Linked DNA regions of Homo sapiens: region 1 is linked to region 2. Evidence: promoter capture Hi-C in human tissues and cell types (Jung and others, 2019). All regions are on one chromosome and are shown on one strand. The core of a region is centred on a gene start or on the middle of the fragment in contact, and the rest is flanking DNA. Distances in the headings are between cores, read along the strand shown.

Region 1 (5,414 bases), core at 2,547-5,046, 210 kb before region 2:
AGCAGTGTCAAATGGTGCTGAGAAACCACGGTTATACCTGAGAAGTGTCTGTTGGATTTACTGGATTGGAGATATTGGCAAACTCAGCAGGAACAGTTTCAGTGGAGTTCAGTATAGCAGATGTGGACAAAGTCAGACTGCATAGATGGGAAGTTTTTGCAGTTTCCAGGAATTCTGTTCCCCGAGACCTGGCTATATGTCTCAAGTGAAGAACCCCTGCTTTGGCTTGACTCTGCTGTCACATTAGCTCACTGCTACAGAGCAGGGCTGAGGAGTGGGCCTCTCATTCCGGCAACATTTGTTTCAAACCTAGCCCTGTCTTTTTTTTTTTTCTTTTTTTTTTTTTTTTTTCTGAGTTTTCTGCTCCACCCCATACATCCCACCTCCAACCCCCCTCCCTGCAAAAAGAAGAAATGGTAACGCAATACCTGATATGACTGTGGGCACAGAGGATACATAAAGAATGGTCTTGCCCTCCAGGAGCTCCAGGGTTAGTGGAGGGACATGAGATAGCAGGTACGTTTTGATATGGGGGAAGGAAAACTCTGGAGTCTAGAGGGTTCGAGTGGGCAGGAGGGAAGACTAGGGCAGGGCCACGTTATGACTTCCATGGGCCCTGGGCACTTTTGCCTTTCTGGGCCCCCTTTCTTCCATAAAAGTATTTAAAATTATATTTTATTACTGCATTGATATAAAAATGAATATATTTATGTACTAAACCATTTTTTCTTCTAATTTTTCTTAAAAGTTTTTTTCTTCTAATTTTAAAAGAAAACATTTTTGCAATGTGGGCCTTAGGCACGGTGCCTACTATGTCTAATGGATGAGTTAGCACAGGACTAGTGTACTAGGGGATAGTGTGAGGCCTCTGGGTACCTGGGAATGGAGAGGCAGGAAGGAGACAAGCCCTACACGAGACTTAACATTCTATTTAGCACTGACCCAAAATCTCAGGGAGATCCCATAGGCCAAGCAGCTCTGGGAAAAGTGAAAGTGGTTTAGTTGGAGCCACCTCATAGGGGCCCCCAGCTGCCTAAGGTCTTGTGAAAAGCAACCCCATCTGTCCTCTGTCACTAATGCCATTGTAAGGGGGGACCTCTCACAGGTGAGGTCCTTGCTTCTGAAAATGCACAGCATCCCATGAGCTGTCAGTTTCTACCAGAAAGGGAAAGAGTTTTACTCTATGGGAGTAAGTGCACGAGTGTATGAGAGAGAGGTAGAATAGGGGAAGTTGTTCTGTGTCATTTCTGTTTAATTCATTTCATTAAACACTGATTGCCTACAAAACCAGGAGAGGGGTGGAGAGTTTGTGATTTAAACAGCCCAATTCAGACATTTTTCTTGAGAACATGGCCCCATCGCATCTGAGCCCATTTCTGCTAAGCCCAGGAGGCTTGTGTTGGCATGGAGTCAGCAGCATTCATCCCGTTGCCATGGTGATTCTTAGGCCCTGGGGCTGGATTTAGCTCACACAAAAACAGGACCACACCCCTCTCTAAACCCCCTCCACAGCCCCCACTTGTCTCTCTCCCCGCTCCCCTCCTCTCTACTGTGCCCCACCTCATGAGTTTTCCATCTCTTGGCCTTTGTTTGTGTTTGCCTTTGTCAGTCTCCTGCCTCTGGATGGGTTTCTGTTTGTTTCCAAACTGTCTGGGGCTGTGCACCATGGAGACAGTGTCCTGGGCTGCCTCTAGCCTGATCTGGTTAGAATAAGCCCCTCTCCTTTGCATGCGTCTCCAACCTGACATTTGGAGCATCCAAAACAAATCATGACATTCCCAAGTAAAGATAGAAACCACCGTCTCCACCCACTCTGGCTGGTGCCCTTGTCCACCTGGAAAGGGTTTTTCAAAAATTTCCAGCGTTCTGCTGTAGTGTCCATATACTGCAGCCCTGAAAAGGGAAAGCAGCATTTATTGAATACTTTATATCAGCCACGGGGCTAGACTTTGCTTGTGTTAAAAATCTGGAAATTAGGCCAGGCGCGGTGGTTCACGGCTATAATCTCAGCACTTTTGGAAGGCTGAGGCGGGCAGATCACCTGACGTCAGGAGATCAAGACCATCCTGGCCAACATGGTGAAACCCCTTCTCTACTAAAAATACAAAAATTAGCCGGGTGTGGTGGTGTGCGCCTGTAGTCCCAGCTACTCAGGAGGCTGAGGCAGGAGAATCGGTTGAACCTGGGAGGCAGAGGTTGCAGTAAGCTGAGATCGTGCCACTGCACTCCAGCCTGGTGACAGAGAGAGACCCCATCTCAAAAAAAACAAATCTGGTTTCCTGCATTAAAATTCAACTGCAAGCTCCTTGAGGACAGGGACTAGGCAGTCTTTGTATATCCAAGTATCTAAGATATGGTAGGTGCTGGAGAAGAGTTTATTGAGTGAATAAAGGGGTGCAAAGATACAAGAAACTTCCCTATCACAGTAGAGGGTAATGATTGAATGTTAGCAAAAAGAGAATGAAGGCCGGGCGCGGTGGCTCACGCCTGTAATCCCAGCACTTTGGGAGGCCGAGGCGGGCGGATCACGAGGTCAGGAGATCGAGACCATCCCGGCTAAAACAGTGAAACCCCGTCTCTACTAAAAATACAAAAAATTAGCCGGGCGTAGTGGCGGGCGCCTGTAGTCCCAGCTACTTGGGAGGCTGAGGCAGGAGAATGGCGTGAACCCGGGAGGCGGAGCTTGCAGTGAGCCGAGATCCCGCCACTGCACTCCAGCCTGGGCGACAGAGCGAGACTCCGTCTCAAAAAAAAAAAAGAGAATGAAATTAGACGAGAAAAAAAATGCATTGACAAGACATTGTGGATGAGTGGGGGTTTCAAAGAAGGTTGTGGACATTTGTTGCTTGAATTCAGGGAGTCCCATTTGCGATGTCACCAGAAATACCTTTTGAGGTTAGTGGGGTGGAAAGGACAGTGTCTTGCATTGTTTTTTTTGTTTGTTTTGTTTTTTTTTTTTTTGAGACGGAGTTTCACTCTTGTCTCCCAGGCTGAGGTGCAGTGGTGCAATCTCGGCTCACCGCTACTACATCCACCTCCCAGGTTCAAGTGATTCTCCTACCTCAGCCTCCCAAGTAGCTGGGATTACAGGCATGTGCCACCATGTCCAGCTAATATTTTTGTATTAGTAGTAGAGACAGGTTTCACCATGTTGGCCAGGCTGGTCTCAAACTCCTGACCTCAGGTGATCTGCCCACCTTGACCTCCCAAAGTGCTGGGATTACAGGTGTGAGCCACCACGCCCAGCCGCCTTGCATTTTATTTAAAGTGCAGATGATCCTGAGAGAGGCTAAACTGTTGACTTGAAGCTTATTCATACACATGTGCAAATGACTGATAACAAAGCCTCCCTAAGAGCAGGTTTTAGTAATGAGTTAGGAGAGGGTGGCGAAAGAGAAATCACTAGGGATTCAAGGGCAGGAGGAGCTTTGACCATGTCAAGGGGTGGGGCCGCTGGAATCAAACTTTGCTCTAACCCCATTTGGCCAAAGGAGGACCCCAGTGAAAACAGCATGTGGTGCTGCCAGGCTTTCTAGCCATTGCTGGTGACATTGGTTAGTTTAGTCAAACTGTCCACTGGTGGGTCAGAAAGGCCAGTCTCAATTTATTGGAAGCATGGATCGCAGGCTGCTTTAAAGATGCAGTTTTATTCTTGAGCAAGTGCAGGCTATCCCAAATGAGCCCATAATATATTGCCTATCAGAGGTCTGTAGGGATTTAAAACTAGCACATCAATTATATTTTTAAAGGGCTAGAAAAGTATTTGTCCTCTTAGTTCTTTGGCCATCGATTTCCTTTGGATAAGTCCATCTGTTGTTCTTGTCACCCAGGGTTCATTCACCTTCCTGGTACCATACCTCAACTTCCTCTCTGGGGAACCAACTCCCTTTCCCACTCTCATTGGTCTTGGGAAGCTGACTGACTGCCCCCTCCACTCACACACTCTACAAGTAGAGCATTGACTCAGGCCCAAGCCAATTAGTGAGTTGCCTTCTCCCAGCCTCAGTGATTGCTTCAAACCTAGGCATGTGGGCCGGGTGCAGTGGCTTACACCTGTAATCCCAGCACTTTGGGAGGCCGAGGCGGGTGGATCACGAGGTCAGGAGATCGAGACCATCCTGGCTAACACGGTGAAACCCCGTCTCTACTAAAAATACAAAAAATTAGCCGGGCGGGGTGGTGGGCGCCTGTAGTCCCAGCTACTCGGGAGGCTGAGGCAGGAGAATGGCATGAATCCGGGAGGTGGAGCTTGCAGTGAGCTGAGATCATGCCACTGCACTCCAGCCTGGGCGACAGAGCGAGATTCCATCTCAAAAAAGCAAACAAACGAACAAAAAAAAAACCTAGGCATGTGACCCAACTAGTATCTCATCAAAATGAGCCACGAGTTTTGAGATAATAGTATCTCATTTTGATATAATAATAGTATCTCATATCTTTTGATGAGATAATAGTATCTCATCAAAATGAACCATAAGTTTTGCTGGGGATCCTGGGAAAGAGACTTGCATTTTCAGTGGTCCTGAATGTGAGAGGCTGCCATCTGGCTGCCATGCAAAGTCTCAGACTGATGCCAACACAGTGGAAAGCAGAGCTGCTGTCCTGATGACGTTGTTTTGAGTACTGAATCCAGTTGTGCTTGAAGCCAGACTTTTCACTTAGGTGACCAATAAATACATTCCTTTTTATTTAACAGAGTAAGTTGGGTCTTAACGGGGAATAAACGTGGGTAGATCTTAACTGATAGCCTTTGCCATCCTGGAGCATCATTATTTTTAATGTAAATCCTTTGTTAACTATAGAAAGGTGTGAATTCCAAACTAGTGAGTCTGGATTGATGAAGTTTGACTGTCCTGACCCTTGGACTATCCCCACAAGGCACTCAAACCTGTGCAAAATAAGAGATGGGAGGCAGGGGCATGGTGACTCATGCCTGTAATCCCAGCACTTTGGGAGGCTGAAGCCTGCAGATCACTTGAAGTCAGGAGTTTGAGACCAGCCTGGCCAACATGGTGAAACCCCGTCTCTACTAAAAATACAAAAATTAACTGGGCATGGTGGTGCACGCCTGTAATCCCAGCTACTCGGGAGGCTGAGGCACGAGAATCGCTTGGACCTGGGAGGCAAAGGTTGTAGCGAGGCGGAGGTTGAGTGAGCCAAGATCGCACCACTGCACTCCAGCCTGGGCAGCAGAGTGAGACTCCGTCTCTAAATAAATAAATAAGAGATGGGAAAAACACACACACGCGCGCCACTGTGTTTTGGGGCCTTCTGCAGCCTCAGTCTCAAGGGGCCTCCTTCGGTCAGCTTGGACTGGCTTCTGGCCTCAGAAACCTCAGGGCCCATCAAAGTCCGGAAGCAGCAATGGGTAGGTCTGACCAGGGCTGTGGCTGTAAACTACACTGGAGGAGCCT
Region 2 (5,396 bases), core at 2,573-5,072:
GAACCTCAGTCAATCTCAAAACAGTCAGACATTTTGACGTCTTCTTGTACTAACTGCATTATTACTACTTAATATAAAATTTTCTAGCATCCATACTTTACAAAACAAAAAGAAATAGGTAAAATTAATTTTGACAACATATATTATTCAGGCCAATATTAAAATTGTTAAGTTATTTCGCTTTTTTTTTTTTTTTTTTGAGACGGAGTCTCACTCTGTCGCCCAGGCTGGAGTGCAGTGGCACGATCTCTGCTCACTGCAACCTCCGCCTCCCAGGTTCAAGCGATTCTCCTGTCTCAGCCTCCTAAGTAGCTGGAATTACAGGCGCATGTCACTACCGCCCCACTAATTTTTGTATTTTTAGTAGAGATGGGGTTTCACCATGTTGGCCAGGCTGGTCTCGAACTCTTGACCTCAGGTGATCCACCCGCCTTGGCCTCCCAAAGTACTGGGATTACAGGAGTGAGCCACCGCGCCTGACCCAATAACACATTTTTTTAAAAGGACACGCATTAAACACATTAAGCTGTGTCTTGGGGAGGAGGAGGAAGGGAGTAGGAATGGAGATAAACGTAACTAAAATAAAACAAGAGAAGTGTTTTGAACAGATCAATTATAAAACATGCCATAGGGCACCAAGAAAAAAAGTGTACAGGGAGGATCGAAGCATTCTCAGGTCCCCTCACACTCTGTCACTGCCTTAGGTGCTCAACAATCTCAGCCCCAAATAGCCTTTGGACACTTAGCCAGGGGCATTCAAAAACAGCTAGATGGCAAACAGCCAGACAGAAAATTGGAGTATCAACAAAAGGACTAGCTTTACATCAGAGTTTCCTCTAGCACTAAATGCTCTGAGAAAACTAAAAAGGCATATCTACAAATTGCAAGGGAAAATATTTTGACACAAATACAATACTGACTTAAGCTTTTCATATGTGAATGATCATTCATATGCCAAGGTGGAGATGGAAGTCAGGGAGAAAAAAAGACCTTTCTTAGACTTTTTTTTTTTTCTTTTTTTTTCTTTTGAGACGGAGTCTTGCTCTGTCGCCCAGGCTGGAGTGCAGTGACGTGATCTCAGCTCACTGCAACCTATGCCTCCTGGGTCCAAGCGGTTCTCGTTTGTGCCTCTGCCTCCCAAGTAGTGGGACTACAGGGCATGCCACCACGCCAGGCTAATTTTTGTATTTTTAGTAATGATGGGGTTTCCTCATGTTTCCCAGGCTGGTCTTGAACTCGTGACATCAGGTAATCCACTCGCCTCGGCCTCCCAAAATGCTAGGAATACAGGCCTGAGCCACCGTGCCTGGCCCTTTCTTAGACTTTCAAGGACTCACATGCACACTGCCTACTTACTCATTTGAGGGAGATTCTATCTATCTATCTATCTATCTATCTATCTATCTATCTATCATCTATCGATCTATCTGTCTATCTATCTATCTGCCTACCTACCCATCTAAAATCATGGAAAGACAAAGTTACAAGAATGGCCAACAGATGTGATCTTGTGTTCTAGCTCCAACTGACTGTCCAGAGCACTGTCCAAGAAGGATTGTGACATTCCATCCAGTCTCAGATGTAAGAGTGCCTGGATTGATTAGTAACATCAGCCACAGGCCCCTGTGCCATATGCAAACCCCTGAACTCACAAAGAAAAGTATTGAAGTTGAGAAACCAAACACAGTCTTCTTCTAGGGTGTGGGATGAGATTTAGACACATGGGATATTCATGTTGACCACTCCTGTATTGTGTGGTTTCTTATGCGTATACACTGCTTTCATGAGAACAATACATGTAATTCCATTTTTAATGTGTGTATATATTTCTATGTATATTTTGTCTATTTGTATGTATGTTTTTTTTTTTTTGAGATGGAGTTTTGTTTTTGCTGCCCAGGCTGGAGTGCAATGGTGTGATCTCGGCTCACTGCAACCACCGCCTCCCAGGTTCAAGAAATTCTCTTGCCTCAGCCTCCTGAGTAGCTGGGACTACAGGCATGTGCCACCACACCTGGCTAATTTTTGTATTTTTAGTAGAGATGGGATTTCACCATGTTTGCCAGGTTGGTGATCCGCCTACCTCAGCCTCCCAAAGTGCTGGGATTACAGGTGTGAGCCACTGCACCCAGCCTTTGTATGCATTTTTAAATGTAGGTATTATTGTACTTATACCTTTTGAGACAACAATTCCAATTTTTGATATTTAATTAATGGAACTAATCAGATCAGTGTACAAAGACGCAGGTAAGCTATTGTCCACAGTGGAGTGGTGTTTTTTTGTTTTTTGTTTTTTGAGACAGAGTCTGGCTCTGTCACCCAGGCTGGAGTGCAATGGCACCATCTTGGCTCACTGCAACCTCCATCTCCCGGGCACAGGCGATCCTCTCACCTCAGCCTCCTGAGCAGCTGGTACAACAGGCATGTGCCACCACGCCCGGCTAATTTTTGTATTTTTTGTAGCGATGGGGTTTCATCATCTTGCCCAGGCCAGCCTTGAACTTCTGAGTTCAAGCGACCTGCCCACCTTGTCCTCCCAAAATGCTGGGATTACAGGCATGAGCCACCGCGCCTGGCCAAAATATGTTTAAAATATGTTTAATATTGTTACAGTAAACACATACCAACCAACAAAAAACCAAAATGACAAATTGGATACAAATCCAGAACCGAGAGTCAGCCCTCCTCAGCTATGTTAGATGCCACAGAAACAAGCGACATATTTCTTTCTTTTTTTTGAGACAGAGTTTCACTCTTTTTGCCCAGGCTGGAGTGCAATGGCATGATCTCAGCTCACTGCAACCTCCACCTCCCAGGTTCAAGTGATTCTCCTGCCTCAGCCTCCCAAGTAGCTGTGATTATAGGCATCCACCACCATGCCCAGCTAATTTTGTATTTATTTATTTAGAGACAGAGTTTCACTCTTGTTGCCCAGGCTGGAGTGTAGTGGCACCATCTCAGCTCACTGCAACCTCCGCCTCCCGAGTTCAAGTGATCCTCCTGCCTCAGCTTCCTGAGTAGCTGGGATTATAGGTGCCCGCCACCACATCCAGCTAATTTTTGTATTATTAGTAGAGACAGCATTTCACCACATTGGCCAGGCTGGTCTCGGAACTCCTGACCTGAGGTGATCCATCTGCCTCGGCCTCCCAAAGTGCTGGGATTACAGGCATGAGCCACCGCACCCGGCCAATTTTGTATTTTTAGTAGAGATGGGGTTTCACCACGTTAGCCGGGGTGGTCTCGAACTCCTGACCTCAGGTGATCGGCCTGCCTCGGCCTCCAAAAGTGCTGGAATTACAGGCGTGAGCCACTGCGCCCGGCCAAAGACATATTTCTATCAAAGCACGTATCCAGTTTGCTTCTAAAGTGAGCATCATATTGTCATTTGCATGATTAAATTAAACTTTATGCCTTATTTGCATTTTGTTAGTTTTGCCTTTAATGTTCTTTTCTTGTTCCAGGATCCCATTTAGGATGTCATACTGCATTTAGTTGTCTTGTCTCCTTAAGCCCCTCTGGGAGATCTCTGCATTTTAAACAGGGCTTAACCATCGTGCCATTGGACTGTGACTTCTGCCAAAGACCTGGGCCACCCATCCCCAAGGCAAGATGAGGACACTCACCCCGGATCCTGAGTTCCTGACGACTGCCTTGATCTGCTGTTGGGAGCAGCACCGATTTCTGTATCTTCCTTTTCCTCCTCTTTATGGGAGAACAGGATAGTCTTTGCACTTGAGCTCTCCCAGGCAGTAACAGCTGTCACTTAGGGGACAGTGCCTGGAGAGCCTGCGGCAGCTGGACCCATCTGGTAGCTCTGGCCTTAGCACACGCCCAGGCCTGGAGCCTTCTGTATCACTCCAGGGTGACTGACCTCTTGAATGAGTGCACTCAGAGTGCAAACAGGCTCCACCTGACTTTCACAATCCGAAAGCACCAGTAGCCCAGTGCTTTCATTGTTATGTGTTGGCCTCAAGTAAAGAGAAAACATCCGGATCCTCTGGACAGGCAGGAGAATGGACTGCAGAGGACCTGCGGTCTGTGGGTTCCATCACTGCAGGGGGATATGTAGTGTGCCCACTCCAGGTCTCTATTGCCCAATATCATCAATATTTAACCACGGAGCAGGGAGCCAGGCTGGCCTTTTACAGCCTGTGCTTTCTCATAGTGAAGGTCATGGCATGATGTGAATTCCTCACAAGGAGCTGTAAAATATGACCTTTGGAGGTGGGGGTTGGGAAAGGCTGTGTGAGCACCAGTGACCCAGAGAGTAGGAAGCAGGCCAAGGCAAGTAACTTGATGGGGAAGCAGGAATGAGGTGCTCCTCCCACCTGACCAGCACCATTCAACTCTGATAGTCTATGGACTTTTCCACCAACTGGCTCCGTGCATCTTAGGCAATCATTGTTGGTTTAGCAAGGAGTGGGCTTATGTGAAATAAGCCCACTCCTTTTTTTTTTTTTTTTTTTTTTTTGAGATGGAGTCTCGCTGTGTCACCCAGGCTGGAGAGCAGTGGCACAATCTTGGCTCACTGCAACCTCCACCTCCCCGGTTCAAGCAATTCTCCTGCCTCAGCCTCCTGAGTAGCTGGGACTACAAGTATGTGCCATCATGCCCGGCTAATTTTTTCTATTTTTAGTAGAGATGGTGTTTCACCGTGTTAGCCAGGATAGTCTTGATCTCCTGACCTCGTGATCTGCCCACCTCAGACTCCCAAAGTGCTGGGATTACAGGCATGAGCCACCACGCCCAGCCGCCCACTCTTATTTCTTACTTCACAAATGAAACAGAGGCTGAGTGAGGTCACATGTCAAGCCCAAACTCCTCTATGAGTTAAACATTAGTCAACAGTGTGTACTGTGTGTGCATGGGGCAGAGGAAAGAAGACCCAACAGGGAATCTAGGGGCTGCCTGGAACTCCAGCTCCTCCTCATTTTGTAATGCATTCATTTATTCATTGAATAAATGTTACTTGAGCATCTACTGTGTAGATACATGGTAAATAAGACAGGTGAGGGCCCTGCTCCATTGGAGCTCAAACTCCAGGGGAGATAGCCAACAAAAAAGTAAGCAAAAGCATAATTAAAAGATAATTATAGCAGTGATCATTTCTGTGAATATCTTAAACAACATAATAAGATAGAAAGGGATGAGGTGGGGGAGACATGATTACTATATTACTACACTAAAAACTGAATGATGAGGGGTTAACCATGCAAAGACCTGAAAAAGCAGGTACAAAGGCCAGGCGTGGTGGCTCATGCCTGTAATCCCAGCACTTTGGGAGGCCAAGGCAGGTGTATCACCTGAGGTCAGGAGTTCGAGACCAGCCTGACCAACAAGGTGAAACTCCGTCTCTACTAAAAATAAAAAAATTAGCCAGGTGTGGTGGCAGG

Evidence for each region. Contacts are between HindIII fragments. The study calls those that stand out against the background at their distance.
Region 1: a fragment that was not itself captured here is called in contact with the fragment with the promoter of SLC51B in region 2 in 1 of the 25 tissues and cell types used here (spleen).

What each region holds. Positions count from the first base shown.
Region 1 is chr15:65,250,681-65,256,094 of GRCh38, reverse strand. It overlaps a transcript of PARP16 not described here. Among named protein-coding and RNA genes, the nearest start is that of SNORA24B, 32 kb to the left of the region's middle. RefSeq lists an enhancer at 2,135-2,635. The HindIII fragment of the contact is 7,861 bases long and covers 1-5,414 here.
Region 2 is chr15:65,043,813-65,049,208 of GRCh38, reverse strand. It overlaps SLC51B (SLC51 subunit beta), which reads right to left and starts at 3,822. Exons shown (of 4, transcript NM_178859.4): 1 at 3,627-3,822. It also overlaps a transcript of RASL12 not described here. The HindIII fragment of the contact is 9,148 bases long and covers 1-5,396 here.